Linked DNA regions of Homo sapiens: region 2 is linked to region 1. The links are contacts of gene promoters, found by promoter capture Hi-C in human tissues and cell types (Jung and others, 2019). All regions are on one chromosome and are shown on one strand. Each heading gives the region's core, a stretch centred on a gene start or on the middle of the fragment in contact. The rest is flanking DNA. Distances are from core to core; before and after follow the strand shown.

Region 1 (3,202 bases), core at 703-3,202:
TTTCCCATTATTTGTTAATTTATTTCACATTTACTGAACTTATCTTGGTGAGACACACTGTGTGGCTGGAGAAATAGCAGGGAAGGAAATAGACAAGGCTCCTGCCCTTAGAGAGCTAGCTCTCTAGTAGGGGGAGACAAATCATTAACAAGTAAACTGTGCTAGAGTGAGGATTCAAGGGCCAACAACTAAATTTTGGTCCTTGTTTTCCTGGAGCCTACATTTTAGGGTAATTAAATAAAATATAAAAGACCTCAACACTGACTGGAACATAATAATTGATCAGTAAGTGTAAATTTTTATTACTGCTTAAAAAATTGGTTACAATCTGCCATTGAATTCATTGTTCAAGATTTCGTTCTGAATATTGGTGATGTGTTTTTGCCATTTGACTACCTTCTATAATTTGCCTTGCCTGTTTATATCCTTGGTCATAATTTTTCTGGTTTGCCTTTTACTAATGGACATGTAGTTCTGAGGCAGAATAGGGTCTGGAGGCAGGGAATGTTAAGGCCGATTCATGCTGACTTCCTGGAACTAAATCAAATTGCAGTACTTCAGCAATGACAGGAAACATCCTCTCCATTTACACAGGGCTTATATCCAGTAAATGACTTTAAAATTTACTTCATCCTCTTCATTTACATAGGGCATAAGCCAAGTAACCAATGGAAACCTCTAGCTGGCATTTAAACCCCAGAACATTCTCTAACGGCACTCTTGAGCCCCTATCCTCGGGCGCTCCCAACCTATGGGGTGTACTTTCATCTTCAATAAATCTCTGTTTTTGCTTCATTCTTTCCTTGCTTTGTGCGTTTTGTCCAATTCTTTGTTCAAGACGCCAAGAACCTGGACACATCAACTGGTAACAGCTCTTCATAGGATAAACACATGGCAACCACTTGTCTATTACATGTGCAGATAGTTTCCTTGTACCCCAATTGTCTTTTAGGTTCATTAAGGTCATATTTAAACATGGACTTTTGAAATTTGTTGTAGCTAAACCCGTATATAAGCATTTAGGCTTCCTCCTTCTTTGGGTCTTTTCTTGTGGACTCCCATGCACATAGCTGTAAGCTTTTCCCCTGTTAAACTGTCTTAAGTCAATTTAACCTCTTAGGCCCAGGTGGAAACCTTAAGAGGGTAGAGGGAGATTAGGTTCGCTCACTATTGGAAAAGCCTGTATTGCAACAGTGACGCTCTGCAGCTGCAGATAGGTGGCTTAAAGTTTCTTCCAACAAAAACATTCTGTTTCCACAAAGCAAAGTAAGGAAAGCTCTTAACGGAGTGTTCCCTAAAGAAAGCTTTTTTTTTTTCTTTGAGATGGAGTCTCGCTTTGTCGCCCAGACTGGAGTGCACTGGTGTGATCTTGGCTCACTGCAACCTCCGGCCTCCCGGGTTCAAGCGATTCTCCTGCCTCGGCCTCCCGAGTAGCTGGGCCTACAGGCGCGCGCCACCATGCCCGGCTAATTTTTTGTATTTTTAGTAGAGACGAGGTTTCACCATGCTGGCCAGGCTGGTCTCGAACTTCTGACCTCATGATCCGTCCGCCTCGGCCTCCCAAACTGCTGGGATTACAGGCGTGAGTCACCGCACCCGGCCAGGAAGGAAAGCTTTTAACCCGACGGCTCAGGGAGGACACCGGTAGCAGGACTAGAAGCAGCACAGTGGAAAGTAAGTTTGGCTTGGAAGCTAGGTCAAGCATGGGTGATAGGGAATTCGCCACTTAGTTTGAAGCAAATGGCCTCCTTGTTAAAGCTGAGTGCAGAGGGCCCGGCAGCAGTACTACAGCTAGCAGAACCAGCCCAGAAAACGAAGCCTTGGAGACTTGAGGTGGGTAGTGCCGGACGCAGAGCACAGGGCGCGGCTCCCACTTGCCTCCGGCTCCCGGAAGCGGGCGGGGCCACCTCGCGTCCCGGGGGCTAAAACCTGCGAGCGAGGACCGCGCGCCAAGGCTCCTCAGCCGAGCGCCGAGCGGTCGATCGCCGTAGCTCCCGCAGCCTGCGATCTCCAGTCTGTGGCTCCTACCAGCCATTGTGTAAGTGCGACTGCTGCCGGGCGCGCGGGCCGCGGAAGGGGGCGGCCGCCTCTCGCTCCCCAGGTTCCCGGATGGTGATGGGTTCGCGGAGAGAGGCGGCAGGGGCAACCCCTCGGACCTCATAGCGGCCCGCGCGGCCGGTCTCCGGGGGCCCCCGCCCGCGGCGGTGCTGTAGGCGAGCCGTGGCGGGTCCCCAGCGCCGGGTGCTGCGCCGCAGCTCAGCTGGCTCCTGGGTCCCGGAGCGCGCCGCTGCCGAGTGCCAGGTTCAGGCGGCTCCCGTGCTGTTGGTTCTGCGCGATGTTTAATTAAAACTGAGAGTCTAACTTCACTTTTTTTTTTTTAATGCAGAGGCCAATAATCCGTTATGGAGCATGCCTTTACCCCGTTGGAGCCCCTGCTTTCCACTGGTACTGTATTTCTTTCCACGGTTTAGTGTCACTGACGTGCCCCTCCCCAGCGACGGGAACAGGTCGAAAGGACGGGGCTCTAGAGCCAGCGTGACTTCCAGCCTGGGTTCTGTCCCTGATTTCCTAGCTCTGTACCGCTAAGCATATCAGCCTCTCGCCGGTCTCATTTTCCTCATCTGAAAAATGAGCTTACGTATCAGTCCTTGCTGTGAGGACGAAATGACAAGATACAGTGTGTGTAGTCCGTGTGGAGCCCAGTAAGCGCTTCCCGGCTGTTGCGCCTCCACCAACAGCGCGAACAAATCTGGAACATAGCGGAACATTAGACATTGCAGGCATTAAGGACGGTCATCGTTGCCTGACCGTGATGCATTTTTAATCCATTGAAAGTGCCCCGAGCTTATCTAATAAAAGATTGGCAAATGATTATATCAAGTGTTTTAAATCTATATAACACTCAGGATATTTTATTCTTCTAAGATTTGAAATTACTGTGTAACCGAGTTCAGGCTGGGCTGCTCGCTGCTTGCAGAGCCAATCAACAAGGACGAAGGGCCCGGAAAGGAAAGTGACTACTTTCCAAAGCTAGCAATGGGGAAGTAGTCCAAGCTTCTGCCTTAACGAAACCATTTCAAATTTGGACAAAATGTAAGAGCTTATAAAGGGGCGCTTGGTATTGGGGCTCGGGGGCCCCAGTCTACGTGACTTGCTCAGATATTTATCTTGGGTTTTTGCCTCATCTGGTGAATGGGCTGGC
Region 2 (2,964 bases), core at 442-2,941, 370 kb after region 1:
ATTCTAAAAACAGCCATATGATTGAATGGATTCTGCTTGATGGTAAACACTCATCCCCTATTTCTGTGTTGTAAATATTTTTCCACAAGACAATGAAAAGCCACCATGACCACTGAGATTTCATTTTCGGGACTGTCACAGTTTCAGGCTGAGATATAAGAAAGAACCATCTATTATTAAAGGAGCAGAGGTCAAGTCATGCCGGTGGCCCTCGTAGGGTAAAGCAGGGGTCGGGGAGGGGCTGGTGCAGGAGGGTGGCAGGAGATCTGGAGGAGCTAGAGTGGCAGGTACTCACTGTAACAGGGAATCTCGAGTGGGCAGTGGAGCCAAAGAGGAAAGCAGGGCACCGCGTAGGGACACAGGCAGCAGGGAAGATGCCTTTGTGAGAGGAGCGGGAATTTCACCAGCAAGAGGTGGCCTGAGTGGACCAGTTGGTCTGGCTGAATTGATCAAGATTGAGCCAGAATCTTAGAGGGATTTACATGGCAAATCTTTCAGAACTTCAAGGGCTTTCTGTAAATTCAAGGATTCAGTCATCTGGTTAATTTGACTAGATCTTCCCAAGCACAAATAAATGGAAAATTGACTTCTAATAGTACCTAACCTTCACTCCGATATTTCCGGCTTTTGAACTTTACCAAAGGTAACCTCCCAGGTGCTCAGCGAAAGGAAAATTTAAGATAGTACATGAAGGAGAAGAGACTAGACAAGGTCATGCAGAAATTAAATGAAAAGGCTTTTATTTCACAAGCAGGGAATCGAAACCAGACCACCAGTAAGAAAGGGCAAAGCCTTAGCAACTGAGCTACAGCATAGGGCAGTCTTCACTGTTCTTCCCAGAAAGCATCTAGAATAGTTAATTGTGAGCTTACACAGGCTTTTAACTACTCAAGATAATTTTTAGAGCTAATTATGACATAAACCCTAAAATTCCTGTTCCCTGGAAGGAGGAGACCAAGAGAAAGTACTGCCACGTGGTAACAAGGTCAAGCTCCCAAGGACATAAAACAAGATGGAGATAAACAGTGATTTTTACCATTCAGTCAACCATTTGCACAGAAAGAGAGAAGCCAGAAGTCTGACTGGTAAGAAATTCTTACCCTTTTGCCGGCATGCCAGGCTTCTGGGTTCTCTTTGCCTGAGCGGCCTCCATGACTGAGCTTGCCACACCATCGCGCTGGGGCAAAGCCACATCAGAAAAGAAAATTATCTTTTTCTGTTCTGGCCAGAGTAAAATACATGTGACAAAAACATAGACATTAGCTGCTCTGATTAGCACCCAGTATCAAACTGGCAAGGCTCAAATTTGCACCTGGTTGGGCTCCATCATCATTAATCCAACCTCCAACCAGGAGTTTCAACCTGTGGTCTCTGGGCAAGATGGTTGCCCTGAGTAATAGAAAAGATAAGAAAGAGAAAGGAGAAAGAGAAAAGCATTGCCTGAGGCAGGGTGGGGAAGGTGAAATGATCTGGGAGGCCAGAGAAAGACCCACCCATTGCAGCGACACTGAAAAAAAAGTTCAGGCGGCTGCTTCTAGGTAGCGAAGGGATCTTTTCCAGCAGGCCCATCATCTCTCAAGTTTCCCCTTTTAGGGAGGAAAAAGCTCCCCATGTCCCACGATCCTGTACATGCCTAATCCTGTCACCCACAGTTGTCAGCAAAGAGTGCAAGGCAGATTATTCCAAAGAGAATAGCAGTTGACATGCTGTAGTGCCAAACCCATTCTTAGACAAAAGGGACTTTACTTAGAGCCCTCATTTTAAAAATGTACTTCAAATGCATTGTTGTTCATTCGGAACATTCCACTGTGTTATCTTTAGTAACATTTTGCTGTTTCTGTAAGACTTCGCTGCCTCCCAGGCCTGAAGTGTAAGCCAGAAAGAACTCAGTTTTCCAGAAACTAAGGATCCCATTTTTACCTAAAATATTGGCCTTACGCTCAGCTTCTCTTGATTAACTTAGCCAGTGATTTTTTTTTCCTACCCAAGTGTAAGAAAAATGAAACAAAGGGGTATAACACAAAAATCTGATTTTTCAAAAGCCAAATTTTATAACTCCTGCAATATTACTGCTTACTACCAGTTCCTTTCTGACCCAGTCAGATGTAAGAGGCTTCTAACTGGATCCAAGCCAGTTAATTCCCAGATCAAATCCATTCCTGTACCCAGTCCAGTTTCTGTCACAACTCCAAACCCAGTTTGGATCAGAAATTTGCTCAAAGAAACTCAGAGAGCTCAAAACACAAATCTGTGGAGCTGGGAAATCCAAGAGGGAGCTTAACCATGATCCCCAGTGGCTGTGAGAGATCAGTGGAGCTCGGAAATCCAAGAGGGAGCTTACCCATGATCCCCAGTGGCTGTGAGAGATCAGCGGAGCTCCGAAATCCAAGAAGGAGCTTACCCATGATCCCCAGCAGCTCTAAGAGATGAGTGGACACAAGTGGGTCCTGCAGGTACCTTGCATATTCACTCAGCACTGCTGGGGGATGCTAGAAGCTCCATTTTGGATCCCACTTCTGACACCATCTGATAAAAGAAAAACTTCAGCCGAATTAAATTTAAAAGAGTTCAATTGAGCAGTGAACGATTTGCAAATCCGGCAGCCCCCAGAATCACAGCAGATTCACAGAGACCCTCTTGACTGGTAAATTCTAAAAGGGCCTGGATTATGTCTCTTTAGCTTATTTGTATAAATACCACCTGCAGGTTTGAGATTGATGTTAAGTAATCATACCATGCTACTGCACATGTTCCTCTCTTTTTTCACTTTTCTATGACATTTCTGTTTGTTTGATGTACCTGTAATAATCTCTGTTGACATTTGAAGGATAGAAGCAAATGCCACTTTAAAGCTTCCTCAGTGCAGATGAAATGATGATAATAATACAACACATTTTCAACACTTTTCTGGAGAAGTCAAAGCTCTTCACAGACATTAACTCATTCATCTTCACGATAGCAGTA

What was found. Contacts are between HindIII fragments. The study calls those that stand out against the background at their distance.
Region 2: a contact is called between a fragment that was not itself captured here and the fragment with the promoter of TPK1 in region 1, in 1 of the 25 tissues and cell types used here (dorsolateral prefrontal cortex).

Annotation. Positions count from the first base shown.
Region 1 is chr7:144,834,803-144,838,004 of GRCh38, reverse strand. It overlaps TPK1 (thiamin pyrophosphokinase 1), which reads left to right and starts at 1,952. Exons shown (of 9, transcript NM_022445.4): 1 at 1,952-2,038; 2 at 2,387-2,445. The coding sequence starts at 2,403. RefSeq lists an enhancer at 1,742-1,811 and a silencer at 2,112-2,211. The HindIII fragment of the contact is 4,228 bases long and covers 1-2,334 here.
Region 2 is chr7:144,463,453-144,466,416 of GRCh38, reverse strand. The region is part of intron 8 of TPK1 (thiamin pyrophosphokinase 1); the gene reads left to right. Among named protein-coding and RNA genes, the nearest start is that of NOBOX, 61 kb to the right of the region's middle. The HindIII fragment of the contact is 4,814 bases long and covers 1-2,964 here.